Regions from separate parts of the Homo sapiens genome. Here region 1 is linked to region 2. The links are contacts of gene promoters, found by promoter capture Hi-C in human tissues and cell types (Jung and others, 2019). All regions are on one chromosome and are shown on one strand. The core of a region is centred on a gene start or on the middle of the fragment in contact, and the rest is flanking DNA. Distances in the headings are between cores, read along the strand shown. Region 1 overlaps MAGI1 (membrane associated guanylate kinase, WW and PDZ domain containing 1). Region 2 holds the start of MAGI1 (membrane associated guanylate kinase, WW and PDZ domain containing 1).

Evidence for each region. Contacts are between HindIII fragments. The study calls those that stand out against the background at their distance.
Region 1: a fragment that was not itself captured here is called in contact with the fragment with the promoter of MAGI1 in region 2 in 3 of the 25 tissues and cell types used here (aorta, pancreas and spleen).

Annotation. Positions count from the first base shown.
Region 1 is chr3:65,959,246-65,964,139 of GRCh38, forward strand. All of the region lies in intron 1 of MAGI1 (membrane associated guanylate kinase, WW and PDZ domain containing 1), which reads right to left. Among named protein-coding and RNA genes, the nearest start is that of MAGI1-IT1, 7.1 kb to the left of the region's middle. RefSeq lists an enhancer at 4,539-4,894. The HindIII fragment of the contact is 4,275 bases long and covers 508-4,782 here.
Region 2 is chr3:66,036,513-66,041,761 of GRCh38, forward strand. MAGI1 (membrane associated guanylate kinase, WW and PDZ domain containing 1) reads right to left here and starts at 2,406. Exons shown (of 23, transcript NM_001033057.2): 1 at 1,484-2,406. The coding sequence starts at 1,796. LOC105377128 (a long non-coding RNA gene) reads left to right here and starts at 2,441. Exons shown (of 2, transcript XR_001740440.2): 1 at 2,441-2,686; 2 at 3,540-3,782. RefSeq lists enhancers at 1-593, 594-1,421 and a silencer at 2,374-2,493. The HindIII fragment of the contact is 7,387 bases long and covers 1-4,251 here.

The DNA of each region.
Region 1 (4,894 bases), core at 1,395-3,894, 77 kb before region 2:
TCTCCTTCCTCTCTACTGCATCCTTTGTCTTCTACTCCCTTAAGACATTATTCCTTTCCTACTTGCCCTTTACTCAAGTTGTCTTTATCCTCTTAGCTATACAATGATTTAATTCAGTACAAAGAACATCACTATTCTACCCATCACTGATTCCCCAGGGCAAGGCACTATGTCTGTGCACAGTAAGTGAGTGATGCTCTTTTTGTTATTTTGGTTTTTCCTTTTTTGAGACAGGGTCTGGAGTGCAGTGGTGTGATCATAGCTCAGTGTAGCCTCTACTTCCTGGGTTCAAGATCCTCCCACCTTAGCCTACTAAGTAGCTGGGACTACAGACATGGGCCACCATCCCAGCATTTTTATTATTATTATTATTATTATTATTATTATTATTATTATTATTATTGAGACAAGGTCTCCCTATGTTTCCCAGGCTGGTCTCAAACTCCTGGACTCAAGTGATCCTCCCATCTCAGCCTCCCAAAGTGCTGGGATTACAGGTGTAAGGCACCACGCCCATCCTAATGTCTTAATGGACAAATAAATAAATTCTCTCTTTTTTTTTTTTTTTTTTTTTTTTTGAGACAGAGTCTCACTCTGTCGCCCAGGCTGGAGTGCAGTGGCGCAAACTCGGCTCACTGCAAGCTCCACCTCCCGGGTTCACACCATTCTCCTGCCTCAGCCTCCAGAGTAGCTGTGATTACAGGAGCCCGCCATCACGCCCAGCTAATTTTTTTGTATTTTTTAGTAGAGACAGGGTTTTACCGTGTTAGCCAGGATGGTCTCGACCTCCTGACCTCATGATCCGCCTGCCTCAGCCTCCCAAAGAGTTGAGATTACAGGTGTGAGCCACCGCGCCCGGCCAATAAATTCTCTTTTAATACTAGCAACAACAGAGACAAGTATCTTTCTGTTCTTGTCAAACCAATGACTGCAGCTCTGTATGTTTCCGGAGTGATTTAAACTTGCCAGATGAGCTTTTAGCCAGTCAAACTGATTTTCCTTTGAGCCTAGATTCCTCATGTGGAAAAGCTCCCAGAAAAGCTTGACTAGATAAGAAAAAAGTGATGTCTAGACAATTCTGCGTTAGCCTTCTGCTGGGAAAACCTCCAGCTGTTTCACTGAACCTCATACAACCAAATCATAGTTCACATTTCACAGATTCCTCACCAGGGTTTTGACATCTTGGGGGAAAAGAACTGAAGAAGGGTGGGCAAGACATCTGACTATAGGGCGGTTTCTAATAAAGCAATAAGTACAAACAATTCCAAGAAAACTAGGATGTCACTGGTCCCTGTGGTCACCAAACAAGAAGGATGTCTGTCCTATGTAAGGACACTGAAGAGGGGAAAAAGTGCGTAATCCTAATTTAATTATAATATTTTTTCCTATAATCAGAGAGGAGAAAGTCACCCAAGCTTGAAGCCAAAATTATAAATTTCATTGTCCACACAAATTGTACAAGATTTCCCTTGAGCAGACTGCAGGGAGGTGGGCTCTTGTTATCCTTCCTTCCTTTCAACTCTTCCATTTCTGTCTGTAATTTCCCCACCTTTGTTTCCATATAACTTCACCATCCTTGCTCCTATATGGCCACAAAGAAAATTCTGAGAAAAGAGTTGAAATACCCCAGTTAAATAGATTCCTTCCTTGTCTATTAAGAAGACATCACTCTTATTTACTTTCTGTACCTTGGCTCTAAGCTATAAGTTCATCTGTCTTTTCTATGCTATAGGCAGTACAGAGCATGGGCCAGCCTGAAATGGCAGGCCTGCAAAAATTGATATGCCAAATGAGAAATAAGAAAACTTGCTTTCAACTAACATGAAATCCCGGAATAACCTTTGAATTTCCATGACACCATTCATCTAGGGATAAGAGGGGAAGGCAGAAGGGGGCATTCCTGTGTCCATTTGGTGTACCCCTGCAACAGGCTATTACCACTTACTGCAATGCATTAAAGGTAGGACAGACAGCTAGGAAACGAACTGGTCTCTGTCCAGTCGAAGAATTAGTCAACACAAATCTACAGAAGTCACCTTGAGCTTGGTACTATCTACCCATAATGCATTTCCCCTCACCTCTTTAAATTCATTCAGTTATTCAGCCCCTCCCTTCCTGGGTGGTAACTACAACTGTTATTTTCAACTCCAGTTCCTTATGCAACACTGCAAAATGCATAACTGAACTGTACACTGTTAACTAAATAGATGATCAGTATAATAAAGAGTCCTCATGTAAATTAAGGAAAACATGTAAAAACCCCCCAAAAATCCACTGAAAAATCATTTGTGCATTCAACATAGAAAGACCCTTAAATATGCTATGCAGGGTATCTTAGAAAATAATATTAAAATGAAGCCCTCTTGGAGAAACTAATGACTTGTTTTTAAAGGTCTAGTGAGTGCCTAGATAGTGCCTTACTAAGGCATTCCGCAGAAAACAGGGTTCCTTGTATTCAGCGCAGTCAGGAGGTGAACTGATATCAAAGAACCACATCCATTCGTGTCATTTTACACGTTTCAAGAAACAAACTTTCCAATAAAGACAGACTCCATTCCTCTTCCCCCAACCTTCCTGTCAGGCTTCCCTTAATAAAGTTTCTGCCAGATAAACATCATGAATGTTCCATTGTGCTGAGAAGAAAGAAGTTTACAGCAAATTGCTTGGTTAGAGCTAAGAGTCTGGGAGCCACCTGAGCAAATCAGCTAAGTGCTTTGGAAAAAGCTATTTCCAAATTGGGACAGCTTCCATGAAGTGACTGGGCATAGTCTTCATGAAGAGGTTGTTTGTCTCCTCCTATCCGTCATATCAGTAGTTTCAAGATAAGAAGAAAGCATATTTGGACTGTTTGTTCTCATGGACATTAATCTGATTGTATTTTTTTTTTTTTTTTTTTTGACGGAGTCTCTCTCTGTCGCCCAGGCTGGAGTGCAGTGGTGCGATCTCCGTTCACTGCAAGCTCTGCAGTGGTTCACGCCATTCTCCTACTCAGCCTCCTGAGTAGCTGGGACTACAGGCACCCGCCACCATGCCCGGCTAATTTTTTTTTGTATTTTTAGTAGAGACGGGGTTTCACCATGTTAGCCAGGATGGTCTTGATCTCCTGATCTCGTGATCCACCCGCCTCGGCCTCCCAAAGTGCTAGGATTACAGGCGTGAGCCACCGCGCCCGGCCTCTGAATTGTATTTTTCAAGTGTACTAAAGTTCCTCCAGGAACTACACACACAACAAATGTACTTTCCAACTTGCTTATTTAGGAAGATCAGCTTTGTTACATCAAAACGTCCATTAGAAAGTCATGACACTGGCCAGGCGAGGTGGTTCACGTCTGTAATTACAGCACTTCGGGAGGCTGAGGTGGGAAGACTGCTTGAGGTCAGGAGTTCAAGACCAGCCTGGCCAACATGGTGAAACCCAATATCTACTAAAAACGCTGGGCGTGGTGGCCCACATCTGTAATCCCAGCTACTCAGGAGGTTGAGACACAAGAAACACTTGAACATGGGAGGCAGAGGTTGCAGTGAGCAGAGATCATGCCACTGTATTCCAGCCTGGGCAACAGAGCGAGACTCTGTCTCGGGGGGAAAAAAAAAAAAAAAAAGAAGCAGAAGAAAAAGAAGAAGAAGAGGAGAAAAGAAAAAGAAAGTCACAAAAAAATGAGCAGAGAAATTAGGTTTTACCTCAAGTGTCAGCAAAAAAAAAAAAAAAGTTAAAACAAGATGAGTTTTTTTTTTTAAACACTGCATATAAAACAATGAAGTAATTTGTTCAGAGAGTTCTGCTGTTAAAATAATGACAATCTGGCCAGGCGCAGTGGCTCACGTCTGTAACCCTAGCACTTTGGGAGGCCAAGGCAGATGGATTGCCTGAGCTTAGGAGTTCGAAAACAGCCTGGCCAACACAGTGGGGAAAAAAAAAAAAAATTAGCTGGGAGTGGCATTTGTAGTCCCAGCTACTGGGAAGGCTGAAGCAGAAGAATTGCTTGAACCCGGGAGGTGGAGGTTGCAGTGAGTCGAGAGCGCACCACTGCACTCCAGCCTGGTCAACAGAGCGAGACTCTGTCTCTTAAAAAAAAAAAAAAAGTAGCTCGGCCAGGTGTGGTGGCTCACGCCTGTAATCCCACCACTTTGGGAGGCCAAGGTGGGTGGATCACAAGGTCAAGAGATCCAGACCATCCTGGCCAACATGGTGAAACCCCGTCTCTACTAAAAACACAAAAATTCGCTGGGCATGGTGTCATGCGCCTATAGTCCCAGCTACTCAGGAAGCTGAGGCAGGAGAATCACTTGAACCCAGAAGGCGGAGGTTGTAGTGAGCCAAGATCGCGCCACTGTACTCCAGCCTAGGTGACAAAGCGAGACTCAGTCTCTAAATAAATAAATAAATAAAAATAATGACAATGTAATGTAGGATGGGCAGTTTGTAACTTTTCTATAATAATTCTTATATGATTTTAAAAGGGCCCTATGCGAACTACTTTAACATGCACTATTTTACTTGAAATCGCACAACACTCCCAAAACAGGAGAAAAATTTCATAAAGACAGAGAGCTTTGCTTGTTGTATACATTTATTTATTTCAAGATTTGGCACAATGCCAGGGATAGAGTGGTACTTAATGATATCTGTGGACTGAAGGTCAACACTTTTTCATATATTAGACAAATACAGCTCATAATGATTAAGAAATTTGTCTGAGACCACAAGGCTGGGAAATGACTAAGCCAAGCTTCCAATGAAGGGCAGTGAGTCAGATTCCTGAGTCTAGTTCATCTAATATAATTGTTAAGGGTGTTAACATTAATCTTTACTGCATCACATTTCTGCAAGGAAGCTTTGAGCCACCATCCTGAAGACTGAGAAACCAACACAATTTTAACCCATTAAGCACAG
Region 2 (5,249 bases), core at 1,156-3,655:
CTAGCAGGATTCTGGAGGGCTTCTTGGAGGAGGTATCCCAGTGGAGAATGAAGTCATAAATACAAGGAGCTTTCCATAGCTAAGTGTCAGCTCCTCAGCTCCCAAAGCTGCTAAAAGGCCAGGCGAGTCGGCCGCCCCCTCCTCCATTTCATCTGGAGCACGCCTGTTTCCAAGAGAGGACCAGCTAGGCCCAGCCCTTCCTTTGACACATTCCTCCAGCTGCTGCCTGTCCTTATGGAAACACATGGGAACTTTTCACCATGTTCAACTTCACGACTTCCTTCGGTGCTTTCACTGGGGAGAACCTGCGTCATGGCACTTGCTTGCACAAGGGAGCCCTTTAAGGGCCTCAGCTGGTCTCCATTGGGTTGACATGAGGACAGCCCCTTGTCTGTACCAAAGTGAGATGTAAGGGACCTACATCACCAGCAGCCAGCAAATGCATCTTTTAAAAGGCCTCTACAGATTTCTGAGAGAGGAATTTGCTTCCACTCCCTCCTCAGGAATCAGCCCCTTCAGTGCGGTAGGGTCATCCCCCCACTCCTTCCTCCTCCATACTTAAGGCTCTGCAGCAAGGGCTCAAACCCTCGCTTTTGGCAACTGTGTGACCTTGAGCAAGTCACTTAACCAGTATCAATCCCAGTTTCCTTATCTCTAATTTGGGGTATATAAATAAGAACAACTCGTTCTTAGAACTGTTGTGAATCGGAGTGAGATAGTGCAAGTAAAGTATTTTACACAGAGCCGGGCATGTAGTAAACCAACAATGAATAGTAGCTTCATTTTCATCATCAATAATGACGATGATGGTGGTGGTGGGAGGGTAAACTTGGACCCGATTCGAGCTAAAAGCAAGCACCCCTTCCCCCTCTCCCCCTCCCAAGTGTATGGCTGAGCCACACGGTGGAGACACATGCGTCATCCGGCTGAGGGGTGAATGCAGGCTCTTCTGGCGGCGGGCTCAGGAACCGCCAGGCAGTGGTGTCCTAGCTCACCTGGAGGGGTCGCGGGGTGAAGCAGATTTTCTGATGGGGGAGGTCCAATAAACTACAGACCCTCTCTTTCTGTATACCCACTCAGCAGGTATGGAAACTGACTCGTGGCCAAAGAACGCCAGCTGCATCCCTCCCCCAAGGAGCCAGGACAGCGTCCACCATGCCCCTGACTCAGTTCCCCAACTCTCTCTCGGGTGCAGGCGAGACTGCGCTGCACTTAGTGGCGGAGATAACAGGTTGGCCAGCCAGGCCTGAGAAACGTCCCCCCGCTACCTTGCGCAAACCCAGCCCCCTCTTCGAAACGCAGGTGGGCAAACAACCCTCAACCTCGCAACAACTTTGTGTATTTCACCGCCACCACAGGGCGCACGGCCTCAACTTCTCTTCACTGCGCTCCGAGGAGGGAAGCAGGAAATCGAGAATAAGGGGCAGCCCACAGACCACCCTCCTTTTCTCGGGGCGCCCCCCAAAGGCGCGCCCTGCCTTACCTTGTCTGACGGCCTTGAAGGTGACGGCCTCCTTGCAGCTGTCGATGACCCCCAGCACGTCATAGCGGGGCAAGCCGGACACCCGGACCCCCTGCACCTCCAGAAGCAGCTCCCCTTCGCCCAGCCTCGGGCCCTCGCCGCCGCCGGGAAGCCCCGCTGCCTCGACCGCCGCCACCGCTCCGACGTACGGAAACTCCCCGTGCTCCGCGCCTCCCAGCACCGTCACCCCCAGCTCGCCCTGGGGTCCCCGCTTCACGGTGCATTCGTGAACCCTGCTAGTCCAGTGGTTCTTCTTCTGGATCACTTTGGACATGATGAGTTACACCCCTCCTCCAAAAAAATAAAACGAGAGACAGGTGCCCCCCACAGCACGAGCCCCCAAGCCTCCGCTTGTTCATGGGAGAAACATCTCTCCCCAAATCACAAAACAGGAGAGAGAAACTTGGCAGCCTCGCTCCCCTGCACACGCTCGCGCACTCAAGCCATCATAAAACAAACTTTCTGGGCTTCCCCGCGAGCCCCGCACAGGCGCCCGCGAGCTTTGTTTGCATTCCGGTGCCTCTGGGTCCACGTTCCGGCGCCCGCCCGTGCTCTCCCGGACCAGAGTCCACTCTGCGCCGCTCGGGTTATTTTTTTTTCCTTCCTTCCTTTCTCTCTTGCCTTTTACAAATGCGGTGCCTCCTCTTTGCCTCCCGCCCGGCTCGCCTCTCCTCGCTGGCAGGCTGTTACTGAGGGTGAGGGAAGCCCTTCCAGCCAGTTGCCGGGAGCCCTGAAGACGCGGTGGCGGGGCGGCGGGGAGCAGGGCGGGAGGTAAGTGCTCGCGGCCCCTTTAAGCAGATACAAAGGCTCGGCTTGTTTTGTTACAGTTCATTCTATTCCGCGCCGCGGAGCGCAGCGGCCGGCGACAGGAGACGCGCGCGCATGCGCCCCGCGGCCGCCAGCCGGCCGGCCCACCCCTCCCCTCCTCCCCGAAGGGAGAGATTCCAACGTGCTTCCCGATGGGTCCTAAAACCGACCTGCCGGGAGAAGGCAACTCCCCCCCAACCCTTCCTGAACCCCTATCCTCTCTCCTTTTCTTTCAGTGCCCTGGACTCCGCGGATTCCTTTGGGGCTGGAGGGCCGCACACGTGTTTTACTCCAACTGTTTGCAACTTTTGAAACCCGGGCAATCTGGCTTTGGCATTTGAAAACCATTTCAAACAGGTGGGGGTTGGGGAGGCTGCCACACTCACCCTGGCGCTCACACTCACGCACACGCGCACGCACTCGCGCCGGCCCTAAGCCTCCTAACCGCCCTCGGCCAGTGGCTGGCCAGGCTGTCGGTCACCCAGCCCGGCTGGTTCGCCGCCCCCCTTGCCGCAGGTCCCACTGAAACCCCCGAGACCCGCCCCGGGGCGCTCGCCGCCTCCCTGCCTGCCCTGCGCTTGCGGGTTCGGGTCCTGGCGCGGGGTCTGCCAGGGTCTCTGCGACCCGGGGGAGGGGGACGGTGGGATCCTCCGGTTCCCCAACTGGGATCCCTGTGCGGGTCACACGCGCTCTTACACACACCCGCATCCTTAAACTTTGGGACCAACTTTTTAGGACACGGGAAACTACAGGCAAGAGAGAGAAGCCATGGTGCTAGTGTGGGTTCAGGTATTCAACCAAAAAAGAGATCCCTCTAGCTTTTCAACTGCCCTGCCAGCAGAGACTGCTGGACCCAGTCAATCATCTGCCCCGGCCTCAAGTTCCTGGCAGGGCCGAGAAGCCTGCGGACCTACTCCGGGGCCAGGAGATAAGGATCCCCGCCGGGCGCGGACATGCCCTGCGTCCTGGCGCCCGCGGGGGCGTGAGAGAACTCGGAATTCGCAGCCCGGGGGTAGCTGCGGCCTCCGGAGGTCGCCCGGGGGTGCGGATGGAGTGACTTCTGTCCCGGCGAGGTGGCGGACAGAAAGACTCCCATACCACAGGAAGGCTGCCCTTCCCAAATACTCCTCAAATCAGGCTGCTGAGTAGTCTCCCCAGCAGTTTGTTTTCCTCTTTAGTGATGTATAATTTTGTTCATCTTTGGTCACAGGAGAGATTCCAAGAAATGAGGGGGGTACGTTGAAACGATGAAGAAAGGATGGACACAGCAGTCGAGGTTGAGAGGTAGGCTCAGGGGTCCACCCTTGTGTGACCTTGAGCAAGCTTGGTGACCTCCGCGCCTCCGTTTCTCGCTGATCAAATAAGTAGAACAAGACCTCACAGGGTTCTTGGAAGTATTACGTGGGAAAACACTTATAAAGTGGCAAATAATAAAAACTCATTATATTCTTAATAGTAGTATTACTATTTGGGAAGAAAATTGGGAAATCATTTGGGGATTCAAGTTAGTAAGTATGATAATTTATCCTCTCCTTTCTAGAACTTAGAAAATATGGGCATACTTTGTGTGTTTGTTTTTTGATGGTGGTGGTGGTGTTTTTAGAAACGTGGTCTTGCTTTGTCCCCAAGCTGGAGTGCAGTAGCTCGACTAGCTGATTGTAACCTCGAACTTCTGGACTCAAGCAATCCTACCACCTCAGCCTCCTGAGTATCTGGAATTATAGGCACATGCCACCATGCCCAGCTAGTTTTATTTTTTTGATTTTTTGTAGACATGGGGGGGTCTCCCTATGTTGATTGCCCAGGCTGGTCTCAAACTCCTGGGCTCAAGCCAACCTCCTGACTCAGCTTCCCAAAGTGCTGGGGTTATAGATGTGAGCCACCATACCTGGTTTAGGCATACGTTTAAACATCCTTTTAAAGCATTGTAGGGTGCTATTCTAAGCTAATAAAAGTAAGGAGGGATGTTGATGCTTCTCTCTTGGGATATCCAGAACTGAAAATCCCATTGCATTGTTGTGTTTCTGAAAAAAGGAGGTGACCAATTTTCCATGGCTTTGCTTGGTGAGAGGAACTTTGTCTCCAGCTTTTTTTCAGAAGCAATCTAGGTCAATATGAACAGCACTTCAAAACATAAATTATCAAACCCGAGCACAGATCCAGCCAATCAGAATGTCAAGGAAGGGCTAAGTCATTTGAACTTTTAAGGTTCCCCTTATGTGTTGTTGGTACACAACGCTGAGCACCATAGGTTTAGTATCTTGATTCCAAAGCATTGTTTGGGTCCCAGACCTTTTTGTCAAATAAACCTGTGATCCACATCTCTGTGTAAAATAAAAACTCAAGGAGGTCAGGACACTTTGACAGTTTGGTTTACTGATGTATTATTCCCAGTTCCTAGAATGGTGCCTCGTACTAGCAAATGCTAAAATATTTGTCAAATGACTCTTTCCACAAAAATGTACATTTTTACTTTCCATGTTAGTGGGGAGTCACAGATTCCCCTGCAAATCATTAGTAAGCTTAGTAAGCTTAGCCTTGTGTGTTTCCCCACTTTGCCACTTCATATTCTAGTAAAGTGTAATTGTTTGCTAAGAATACCCACAACCAACCTTGAATTAGGAGTCCCCTACCTCTCCACTCAACTCTCACCTCTGCCTGGGGGAGTCCAAGGGCTGGACAAGACCAGGCGTTTTGTGATTCCTCCCAATGCAACAACATCCCCCTCTTGCCAGGATTCCAGGTGTCACCACAGCAGCTGAGAAAGGAAAGAACTTGGAATTTAGCATACGTCAGGTTTTAGATGTGGAAAAGCCCCAAAAGAAGGAGTAGTACCTGTGGGCACAGAGGGCAATATGGAGAGAATAGACATTATTCTAATTCAGGAAAAGGAAAAATAATTTGAACCTTCAAAGTAGCC